3 separate regions of the Homo sapiens genome follow, and regions 2 and 3 are each linked to region 1. Evidence: promoter capture Hi-C in 16 types of primary human blood cells and fetal thymus (Javierre and others, 2016). All regions are on one chromosome and are shown on one strand. The core of a region is centred on a gene start or on the middle of the fragment in contact, and the rest is flanking DNA. Distances in the headings are between cores, read along the strand shown. Region 1 holds the start of FBXO15 (F-box protein 15). Region 2 overlaps ZNF516 (zinc finger protein 516). Region 3 overlaps ZNF516 (zinc finger protein 516).

What was found. Contacts are between HindIII fragments. The CHiCAGO score rates a contact against its expected background, and 5 or more counts as called.
Region 2: a contact is called between a fragment that was not itself captured here and the fragment with the promoter of FBXO15 in region 1, in 1 of 17 cell types (monocytes). The highest score is 6.5, in monocytes.
Region 3: a fragment that was not itself captured here is called in contact with the fragment with the promoter of FBXO15 in region 1 in 1 of 17 cell types (activated CD4 T cells); the score reaches 5.4 in activated CD4 T cells.

Annotation. Positions count from the first base shown.
Region 1 is chr18:74,146,476-74,150,109 of GRCh38, reverse strand. FBXO15 (F-box protein 15) reads left to right here and starts at 2,276. Exons shown (of 10, transcript NM_001142958.2): 1 at 2,276-2,440. The coding sequence starts at 2,325. TIMM21 (translocase of inner mitochondrial membrane 21) reads right to left here and starts at 1,587. Exons shown (of 6, transcript NM_014177.3): 1 at 1,001-1,587. The coding sequence starts at 1,301. RefSeq lists enhancers at 1,337-1,426, 1,507-1,556, 1,587-1,706 and a silencer at 2,397-2,546. The HindIII fragment of the contact is 3,433 bases long and covers 1,356-3,634 here.
Region 2 is chr18:76,398,011-76,401,630 of GRCh38, reverse strand. All of the region lies in intron 3 of ZNF516 (zinc finger protein 516), which reads left to right. Among named protein-coding and RNA genes, the nearest start is that of ZNF516-AS1, 92 kb to the left of the region's middle. The HindIII fragment of the contact is 2,089 bases long and covers 986-3,074 here.
Region 3 is chr18:76,486,486-76,490,380 of GRCh38, reverse strand. The region is part of intron 1 of ZNF516 (zinc finger protein 516); the gene reads left to right. Among named protein-coding and RNA genes, the nearest start is that of ZNF516-AS1, 3.2 kb to the left of the region's middle. The HindIII fragment of the contact is 2,569 bases long and covers 556-3,124 here.

The DNA of each region.
Region 1 (3,634 bases), core at 1,027-3,526:
ACATGAGCCGACCTCGTGGGGCTACACTGGGGCGTGCCAAGACATGCCCTCCCAAGTAAAAGACAATTGTACCCTATACCTCCTACCACAATGCTTCATAGGCCTGTTTGAATTCTGGACGCAGCATATTCCATATTTGGGAATGTTGCTCCCATCAATTCACTCAGCCACAAGGACTGTCACGTCTGAATGGGGTGCAGATGAGGGAAGGGGTCCCTAAGCAGGCCTGGTGTGCAGTGCAAGCATGAGCACTGTTGCCTGAGCCAGATGACCTGATGCACATGCTGTTTGCCACTTCTATGCCTTTCACCTCTGCATACAGGTTGTTCCTTCGTGCTGAACTAGTATGAATGAAAAGCTAGGTTTTTGGCATAGTCAGCAGACTCTAAAACAATTGGTATGATCCAATTTTTTGGGTTAAAAATTATTAAAAGGTATGTGTATGAAAGTGCAAAATGTTAAAAATAGTCATCTTCGTGTGGTATAATCATGGCGGTCTAAATTGCTTTGTCTTTTTTTTTCCTACAAATCACATGCGAAATGAAGACATTAAAAAAAAATCTTAAAATATCTGTGAATACATCTCTGACTTTCCCTGACAACTTACATTCCATCCTCCCTATTTTATGTTTTTCTATTACTGCAGGTAACATGTGAAAGTTTTCCCTACCAGTTATGAGTCAATAATCTCTCTCTCTCTCTTTTTATCCTATCCAATTACTCTTTATTATATGTAACAGAGCCAATATAACTTGAGAAAAATTTCCCAAACATAATGAAAAAAAGTTATATCAAATTCAAGATCAACTTTCACATCTGAGTTCCAATCTGTGAAGAAAACTGTAGATCTATATGTTCTAGTTCTAAATTATGTTTAAACGGTTTTTAAAAATTCATGTGAATTGCTTTTTCACCTTTAGCAGTGAACTTGGTATAAAAGGGCATTGGCAGCTCTTGTCATGTCTGTTGAAAGCCCAATCATTAAAGTACTCCTTTTTACCTTTTTGTGATGTTGGGACGGCGGTTCCCCCTCTCTGACTCCTGTGCACAGACACTTGTTTGCTGCCATCCTCCTTTGCTTTTCGGGGGCTCGGTCCCTGCGTCCAGATGGTTTTCTGGGTGACTCCAAGAATACATCTAGGTCGCAGCGTTTTCTTTTGATATTGAAGCCCACATCTCAAACTGGGCTCAGTCTTCAAGCACGCTTTGTTAAGCACGATGTATGGCAAAAGCAATCGCTTTGCCGAGGACCTGTGCAGCTTCTCCGTATACTGTACGGCTCGTAGAAAAGTACAAATCATGTTCACGGAAAATCGTTCCGCTTAGGGACGATGCTAACTACAATTAGGAAAGCTTTAGGGTTCACTACACATGCGGCCGGACACGTACTCAAGCCTATACGTTTACATTACATGGGGTGTTAGGCAAAAACGTCAGTTTCCGCAGCGTAAATGAAAACGAAAAGTCTCCAGGGAGAACCTGATGTCTACCTTCCCTTCTGTCTTCTTTCCATTTTAATTAACAGGCTCTGATCACCTTCTGGGCTGACATTCACAGTGTCCCCGCCATGCCTTCGCAAAGTCACCTGGGAAACCCCCGTCTTCCTGGGAATAGTAGTTTGAAAACCTCGCTCTTAACTGGGATACGGCAAAGAGGCGCGCAAAAGAGACTACATCTCCCACAATTCAAGGCGGCCAGAGCACGGCGCAGGTCCTTCCCGCGCCCCCAGACGCCTCCGCGCCCAGCGTCGGCGCAGACGCTGCGCGTCCCTGGAGCGGCGGAAAGTGGGGTGTTGGTGGGGGAATTGGTACCACCCACCCTACGTGGTTCAGGCGGGACTTGCAAAAGCCAAATTAGCAGTTACAATCTACGTGTTTTCCTGATCCTTATAGAGAGGACTGTGCACAGTGGGAAATACCCCCTTGGACTGTGGTCTTGCCAATTCCGCGTGGGCAAATGATTTAGTTTTTGCGTTTTACTGTGTTTTCAGAAAAACTGGACAATAAAGAGTCAGCAAGTGGGGATGAACGAGGCCGCTGCAAAGCAGGCACCGGTTTCCTAAATGGTTAAGCCGCGAACTTGGCTTGGCGCCCTAGGCGGCAGAATGTTAGGGGTGGGTAAGGAAGCCGAGGCCCGGAAGTTTCTAGAAGCCCGCTCTGTGAGCGGGTGTCTGGCGCGGTGCCGTCTGCGCAAGGGTGGGCATACCGTTACTTTTGCTCACGCGCGCATGCGCATAAGGGGTGTGGCGACGTGCGGGCGTGGGGGCGGTGCGTGCACTCTTCGTTTCAGCCCTGGCGCGGTCCTGTGGTGAACTCCTTGTCTCTATGGCGACTGGACGCGGTCGGATCTTGCAGCAGCACTGGCTCGGCCTCCAGACGCTGCGCGGGCCCAGCAGGGGCGGTGGCGCGGCCCGGGGGCGCGCCAGGGCCTTTGGGTGCAGGTGACTGTAGGGCCTGCGGGTGGGGTCCCCTGGCGGGAAGCCCGTCACTGCGCGGCCCCGCTCTCTTCACCGTGTATTTTATTCGTCCAGCTTGGCGCAAGGCCCGTGGCCGTCTTCAACGTGAGAAGGGTATGGAAGAACGACCGGAGGAAATCCTTTCTACCCTGCAACGTGGGGTACCCTAAGTTATGACACAAATAGAGTAGCCTCTCGGGGAAATATTTTTTCTTGCGGCGCCTGTGGCCGGGGATGCGCGCACCTGCCAGGACAGGTGCAGGTCCAAGAGGTCGTTTCTCCGGGATGCGTGCCCTAAATTCACGTGTGCTCCGCCCCTGCCTTCGTATTTTCGCTCTTCTGTAACCAAGAATCTCCCTTCGTGTTTTTCATGACCTTACAACTTAGGGAAGTAGAGTCTGTTCATCAAAACCTTATCAGTTGACACCCTCATCCCCCAAGCAGATACCTCGGGCAGGCAGGTTGGTCTGGCGGGTGGGGGGCAGCACTTTCTGCACCTCCAACGTCAAGGCTAAGTTGCCATCTACATTGCCAGGTCTTGCTCATCTGCTTTCCAGAAGCATCTTCAGCGTGAAGAAGTAAAATGAGCCAGTGCATCAGAAGTATCAGCATGCATAATGGTACCTTATGAAATCCCTCTCATTATATCGTGAGCTGTTCCCTAGCTGTGTACCCATCACTGCAGTTAGTTTACAGATGGAGGGATAATGCCAAGAATGGTTTACATTCTTGAGGATTATCTTTCTGCTTGTAAGACTCCTTGATTTATAAATAGGGAAAGTCATGCATATTTTGCCTTCTAATAAACCAATGGTCTATGTTTAAGCACACAAAGGGAGTCTATTACATACTAGTTGAACTACTTGTTTTTTCCCCCTGAATCTCCAGAACTATGTCCTGTGTCCTCTCTAGGTCTCCATTACTTCCACTTACCTGTTTTCAGAAGCCCAGCCCTGTTGCTTAGTGCTGTGATAATAGTTCTTAATTGAATACCTATAATGCTAGACATACCACAAGCCTTGTCACAAATAGAATGGTGACAATGCCTGCAAAAATTCTTTTATGTAGGAGAAAAAGCAGGAATTTAAATAGGAAACTTGAACTTTTAATCAATTTGCTGCTATTACTAAAATTAGTCTTTACATAGTGCTCTATTAGGGGGAAGCAGAATGATTTTTA
Region 2 (3,620 bases), core at 781-3,280, 2.3 Mb before region 1:
GGGGCCACATAGGGGCCCATGCGGGCTCTGCCAGCAGCTGCAGGGCGTTTCGGAGATGGCCTCGGAGAAGCCCGTGGGCGGAGAGGGACGGACTTAGGCTTGGCCTCTTGTGACCAGCTTTTTGATGTAGTACTTGATGGAAAACAGCTTACTTAGCTTTCAAAATTTTGAATTCATAGATCCAGGGCTCCAGCTTGGTCAACGAGCTCCTGCGAAACAGTTGCAGAGATATTATTTTGTAACTCCTTCTCAAAATAGAAATATGACTGAGTGGTTGAGAAGATAAATGCAGTAATTAGGGCTTTCCAGAGATTTGTCTGAGGCATTGTTCAATTGGGGCTTGAAATTCTTTTTTTTGGTTCACAAAAAAAAAAAAAAAAAAGATAAATTGAAGGTGAACTATAAGAACAAAACTTAACCCATTTATGCCGGAGGTTGCAAATTTCTTTTTTTAGTGAAAAATCAGACCTTGGTGACAACCTTGAGCAGTAGGATATAAATAACTCCCATGAGCTTAGCGTTCCAATAATGGAACACTAGGCATAAATGGGTTAAGATGTACAGGAAAGGAAAATACAGTTATTTCCTCTTTTTAAAAATAGGAGAGAAGAGGAAAACGAAGGAATGAAGTCTGAAGGAGAAATGTATATATATATATATTGTGTTTACATCATTTTAATGGACACTATAATTACAACCCTTTTGTTACAACTTACAGTGTGATTAAGGAAGCCTGCCTGAGATATTTCAGGAACAATATAGTGTTGTGATTTGGGGAGAGTTGCTGAAATTTTTAAGTAAAATGTCAGATCTTTTCCTTAGGTATCCATGGTGGACTGGAACTTCTGAGACTCAATATTTATATTACATAATAGTTTGAACTCTGCATGTGGGAGCTGTAGAAAACCTACATGTTTCACATTTGTTTATATATGTGTAACCATAACATGCTTTAGTTTTGCCTGGCTTTCTGTGTGGACAAGCTTCCTAACCAGACAGGCCGTGCCTACGTAGTTTGATTCCATTTGGTCACCCCTCTCTGCTTATAGCTTTATAATCCACACTCAACCAAGTACGGGGTCAGTACCAGCCAGGTTGTGAATTCATCAGAACGATAAGAGTAAGAATGTCTAATGGGGAAAGCTGGGATGTTTATTTGTTTATTTAGTGTCCTAAAATAATGAAGTTTTAACTTTCTGGGCGTTTAGGTAGCAAATCCTACCAAGTGCTCAGAAATAGCTGTTTCTCAAATTATTCAGTCCGTCTTACCAGAAGACACACATCACAGTACCCAAAGAATGACAATAATTGTAACATAAACCTCTGTGAAAGGACTTAGAAAATTGTGTCGTGAACACCGTGAGCCTCGCCTGCTCCTGTGTTCATCTCTGGCCTAGGCTCAGACCTGGGGGTTGTCTTTTTCCCTCTCTGGCTTCTGCCCCAAGTCGGCCTCTTGGGAAATTGTCCCTCCATCTGTCTCCCCTTCCAGTTGCTCACTCTGAATTTCCAGCCCTTTCACACCCTCCTGCCTGAGTTTGCTAAAGTGGGGGCGTGTGCAGGAAGGGCCACTTTCAGAAGGGCTGCTGCCCTTGGGCAGGGCTGATTGCTCTGCGGTGATGGTCTGCTCATCCCACGGTGGGAGAGGCACATCCTTACCCTTGAAACCACCCCACTGGGAGACCAAACTAGGCCAAAGAGCCAGGTATCTTAGCAGTTTCCATTTCATCCACATGTCACTCACAATCTTAAGTGATTATTGCTGGTTCCAAGCAGAAACATGGTGAGGGCTGGTGGCTGGGTCTCCTCCTGCAGGTGGTGACCACCTGGGACCGGTATTGAATGGACGATGTCACCCAGAGCTATGTTCAAGGGATGAGAGTGTTTCCCGACTTATACAGTATCAGGGGGGCCCTGGGGCTAGAAGTCAGACCTGTGGACCTCGAGTCTAGAGGTGACAGAAGACAACTTAGGTGCTGTTTTCCTGAACCTCCTCTCTAGCGCTTAGAACGCACCCAGGCTTTCGCTGAGATGAGCTGCCTTGAAGCCAGCATGGAGAGCATTTTCAAGTCAGTTACTAAATGACTAACATACTTTAAGTCAATTGCTAACTCATTACATTTGAGTAAGTTTTTGCAAGGTTGGACATTTTTGAAGTTGGATATGCTGACTATATATATAATCCCCCACATGTAATGTTCATGGACATAGTTTGCTTAATTCCGTCTATGCCAAAATGCAAATATATTATTAATTTAAAGCCCTCTGCATTTTTAGCCTCTGAAAATATTGTTGAAGGTGCAAACTGAAATGTAAGATGCAGATCAAAAGGATGCATTGCTATACTGACAGTGCTGTGCTTCATAAGACATGTGCATTTTGCATTTGTCCTGATGATCTTTTAAGGCAAGCTCTTGGTGTAAGTCTTTTGCAGATAAATGCCTGTTGTTGAAAAGTGGATGGCTCTTCCATGTACGGGGACCACACGCGTAGCACCAGCACCAGGAGGGAGTCGGGCTATAGCTTGGGCGCAGGTGCCATCTAGTGGTAGCTTCCATGCATTGCGCGGGCTGCCAGGATGCCTCGGGGAAATCCGCCTTCCTCTGTCACGGAGGACAGAGACCGCTTGTGTTATGAAATGGCCTTTGTTCCGTAAGTCAGACACATGCCTGATTTTAAATCTGAAGACTCTACTAATAAGTGATCCTGATTTTTTTTTTTAAAGACTCATTACAGTTTCTTTGTAAAAGACACGGAATTTGGATTCTGTGTTTTTGGACATTTATGCATCGCAATAGAAAAAGTTGTAGAAAGCCATGCAGGTGCTAGCTAGTTTGTGTGTATATTAGTTGGCTTTAAGTCGGAGAAGTGTACAGTGTTATTTCTCTTCCTGAGACTTACTCCCTCCTATGCCTCTTAAAACACTTTGTGTAGGAGAAAACACACAAGTGGTTTAATTGTATTCTTTGTGACTCCTGTTGGAAGATTCCAGGCCCCCATTCCTTCAGAAAGGCCCCCATTCCTTCATAACTAGTGTTATGGGCCTGGCTTTCCTGCTCTCCTCCTTACTCTAAGCTTCCTTATTTTCATTCTAACATCTACCAGCGGCGTCAGCACCTTCTTCCCGACAGTCCCCGCCACCATTCTTGATAAGACTTCATGTACGGCCTTTGTGCTAGCTGGCATCTGCTTCAGACAGCTGCGTCATACAAGGAAAGATTCGTGTTAGCTAATTATTTTTTGCCAACTTGGATAAATTTGTAAGTGGAAATCTTCATTGCTCTCTGATTAAAGTATGGTTTGCCATGTTTTAAAAAATAATAAAAGAATATATTGATTGTATTTTCTCCAGTGGATGTGTTTTGGTTGGCTGTTAGGATCTGGGGACGAAGGAAGGTGTGTAAGGTGTAGAGTAGCCGTGAAAGCCAACTTGAATTCGATTCACTTCAGCATTTGATTCACAACAGAAAAACCAAACCTGAGCGACGCTTCTTTATGGTTGAGTCAATAGGAAGCAGTTAGTAAATTCCAGGTTTCTGGAACCTGATTATGTTTTATGCCGGATAAACTGCTGTTTAACCGAAAGCTGTCATGGAAGCTAGAGGTATTTGATTAACCTTTAA
Region 3 (3,895 bases), core at 591-3,090, 2.3 Mb before region 1:
GGTAACTGTTATTTATATTTACACAGACCAGCCAGAATTAAATATGCCACATACCACTATTGTGCATGGGTCTGAGAACCCCTCGCCCCCCCTTAGTAAAATTGGAGAGTGAAGTTGCGTAGGAGCCTGCCGTGGTGTCAGGGGTTTGAGAGTTGGGTTACTTGTAGGAGGACGTCTTTAATTTCACAGGAGTGACCCCCATGGCCATCTTGAATGGGCTCTGGGATGAACTGAATTCTGTGTAAGACTCACAAATATTTTGGTAATTGAATTTGAATTTTGGTGTGTTAAGGCACAAGCATGTCTAATGTTTTTCTTAATTCATTAGTAGGGCTTTGTTTTCTTAACATTTGCTAATTTGAATATACTGAAACACCAGAGCGCATTAACCTTCTAAAAAAATAATAATCCCGGTGGATCTGTAATAAAACTAACCAAGAGGAATGGGGATGCCTCGCTAGAATGAAACACAACACCAAAATAGCAGGTTTAGTAGGTACAGCTTTCAACAATGCAGAGAGATGGGAGTTATGCCTATTTTTATTTCTGAAAGCTTTTGTTTATTAGAATAATCTTTCCAGATGGCTTAATATCCTGAAATACACTAGATCAAGAACTTTAACTTTGAGAAATGTGTCTGCTATGAATTGTTGACACCCTGAGAATAGTTTACCTCACCAATGTTTTCCCATTGTTATCTGTAAACAACCTTCAGAGTCTACTAATTTAGAGATTTTATTTTTCCTGGAACCCTGAAGTCCTACATTTCTAACTTTTTTTTTTTTTTTTTTTTTGTAAGATGTTGTCCCAGAGACCAAAATTGACTGAAGGGAATGAGAGAGGTCTTTGAAAACAGGTCACAATGTGAAAAGCACTTTGTCTCCACTTTCATAAATGAAACTTTTAATTCCATTTACCTAACTTCCCCCTGCAAGGAGATATTTGAGTTTTATAAGTGAAGCATTTGATGTGATTAAGTTTAGCAACGTATGTGAAAAAGGAAAGGAGACTTCTGTAAAGAATACTTTGAAATGAGGTATACTCCAACAGATGGTTTTCAGTCTTACCAAATGGGGAAAAATGATAATGTGACCTAGCAATTTACGTAGAGTTTAGTCATGGATTATTCTTGAAAAACCAGTACTCAGTGTATTGGGTCGTTGTGGATTTTTATTTGTTCATTTTCCAGAATACGTATTGGTCTTATTTATAATTTAAGAGAAGGAATCTTTTAAAAAGAATTTGGTGGGAGTGGTTGTAAGTCTGACTGGAGACTGTGTTTAGAGTTTCAGCTGCATTATACCTTAATGCTGTAGAGATAGAGACTGAAATATAAGCTCACTGCGTTCTGCAGCAGGGAGCTTGTCCAAACGTGTGCACTTTCCTGTATAATATGCTTGTTTAAATGTTGAAGACATGCATTATTTTGTTTTTTACTCTATTTTGATTTAGGGGAAAAGGACTTCTGTTAATTACCTAATTAAAAGTGGTATTTCGCTTATTACTAGATTTCCAACTGAAGAAGGCATTGCTATTAAATGTGCAGGAAACACATATCAGCTTTCTCTTTGGTTTTCAGCTGGCCAAATTTAACTGGAGATGTGTAACTTTCTCAGTGATAGACATGGATTTAATTATTAGTAATAGAACTGTAATGGAAGAAAGTTAAATTTATTTGATTAGGTATCTGCATTATAAATGTTTGAACTTGGAAGTCATATTTCTTCTTCAAAAGCAGACATCTTTCATGCTGTTAATGTTTATACATTTTAGTGCTTGGATAAAGCTATTCTGACACACTCAATTAGTTCTTTCAAAAATGCATCTCTTTGCTGTCCCTCCCCCTCCCCCTCCCCCTCAAAAGTTCTAGAAGCTGTGGGAAAAGTTCAGTTGTCTATCTACTGAACGTAGTCCAAGGAATACCCGTGGGTTTGTTCACTGCTCGGGGAGCTGGACGTGTGCCGCTCTGACTTCCTTTGCACATCCTTGCTTCCCTGAATTTGCATTTATTGCCTAACTAGCATCCCGCAAAAAGGCCTTTCCTGGCTGCCTGCGAATTGGCACCTTGGAGCTTCACTTCCAGCATTGTTAATGGCTAAACGTGAAGAACTAATTTTATTACTGTATTTAGCTCACAGGGCCTTGGAAGCGGCCCCTACTCTGTTGTTGGGAGCTGCATCTCATTTAGAGTTGCATTTTTCAAGTGAATTGTAGTGTCAGGCTGTGCATCCGTTGTGGGGTCTGAGTGGGTGATGGTTGGAATACATCTCCCCGTGTATGAGAGGCACCGAGGGATGTGGAGGTTCTCGGAGGCAGATGGAGGTGGGGGCTGTGGACAAGCCTCTGTTTGTGCAGCAGTGATTATTTGGTTGTTCGACTGTTTGGTTAGGTTCCCCTTGGGCTGGTCGCTAACTGGTGGCATGAGCTGACAGTGTAGCTGTTCCCTTCTTCTCCCTCCCCTCCTGGGGGCTCTCATCCTCAGTCCTTCCACCTGACTGGCCGAAAGTGTAGTGGCAGCAGCCTATTACGGGAATGTATCTAGGGGCCATAGAGGAGACAGCATTTTTCAAATTCAAGCTCTGGCCTCAGTTTTCTCTGGTCCCAGGAACCAGTGAGTTTGGGAGTGGGGCAGGACATTCTCTTTGATAGAGGAATGACCTCTGCCCTCAGTTAAGACCACCCTCCCACCCACCATTGGATGAGAACTATCAGAATCGTTCGATTTTCAGGAATTTTGAAAAGGCACAAACCTATTGTAAGAAAAGAATCATGTCAAATGTTTACATTTATGAATAATTAATAAAATTAACCTTATGGGAGGAGGAGGAAGAAAGAACAACTTTTACTATGACTTTAGAATGTCTCCTGTTCTTTAAAAAGTATCTTTATTTTAAAATTAATTTTTCTAACTGAAGAATATTTTAGGGGAATGACTTAAATAGCTATAAGGAAGGATATATTTATAGGGGCTATAAATGCATCATTTGTATTTGAAATTTCTAGCATCCACTACAGTGTACGAAGTGTATTTTAGATGGACTGGTAAAAACCAGCAGTTGCAACTGTCTGTTTTGCATTCCTTATGCTCTGCATCTGGCCACACGTGACTTGAACAGCTGAAGCTTCTCTTTCCAAAGCTAGAGCCATCATCGTATTTATGTCTAGCCTGAGATGTTTTCCGATGGTATACATTCGAATTGTAAAGCAGTGTAATTTGTGGCTCTCAACATGCCTTAAAAGTCATTTCCAAAAAAGATCTGGCATTTAATCTTTAATTCAAATGGTACTGAAAATTACAAAGCAGGAGTAATTAGAAATGCAACTATTTTTAGAAAGCAAACATGTAAATATATGTTAAGTGATGACTAAAACACAAGCAGGAGAGTAGGAAAAATTATTTAAAAGACAACTATAGTAGGTTTAGATACATCTTACCATATACTGTATTTTAACTCTGTGTTAATTCTGGTAGATTTACTTCGTATTCCTGTTTCTGTACCTTCCCCCCGAACCTTGGTCAGGAAGTAAGTAAAGTCTATAGAATCTCAGAATTTACTGGGCCGAGAAGAGATGTATATCGTATGTAATTGTGAAATCCAGACAGTTCCTCAACTGAGTGGTGAAAATGGGATGAAATCTTAGTGTGTTTTGTTATCTTCAAGGCAGAGGGAATCTGGTGTTTTTTTTTTTTTTTCCTTCAAAACCAGGTAGACAACGTCTCTCACCGCCCTGGGGAGTTGCTGGTGCTGGCTCAGCCTCCAGGATACAGCTGTCCTGTTATTTTCTTGCTTTTTTAGGAGATGGTGTGCGTAGAGGAAGATGTGGTGTTAGTTTTCAGGACACAGTTAAAGACAGGCTTAAAAAATCAAGGTTCTCTATTAAAACTATAATTTCT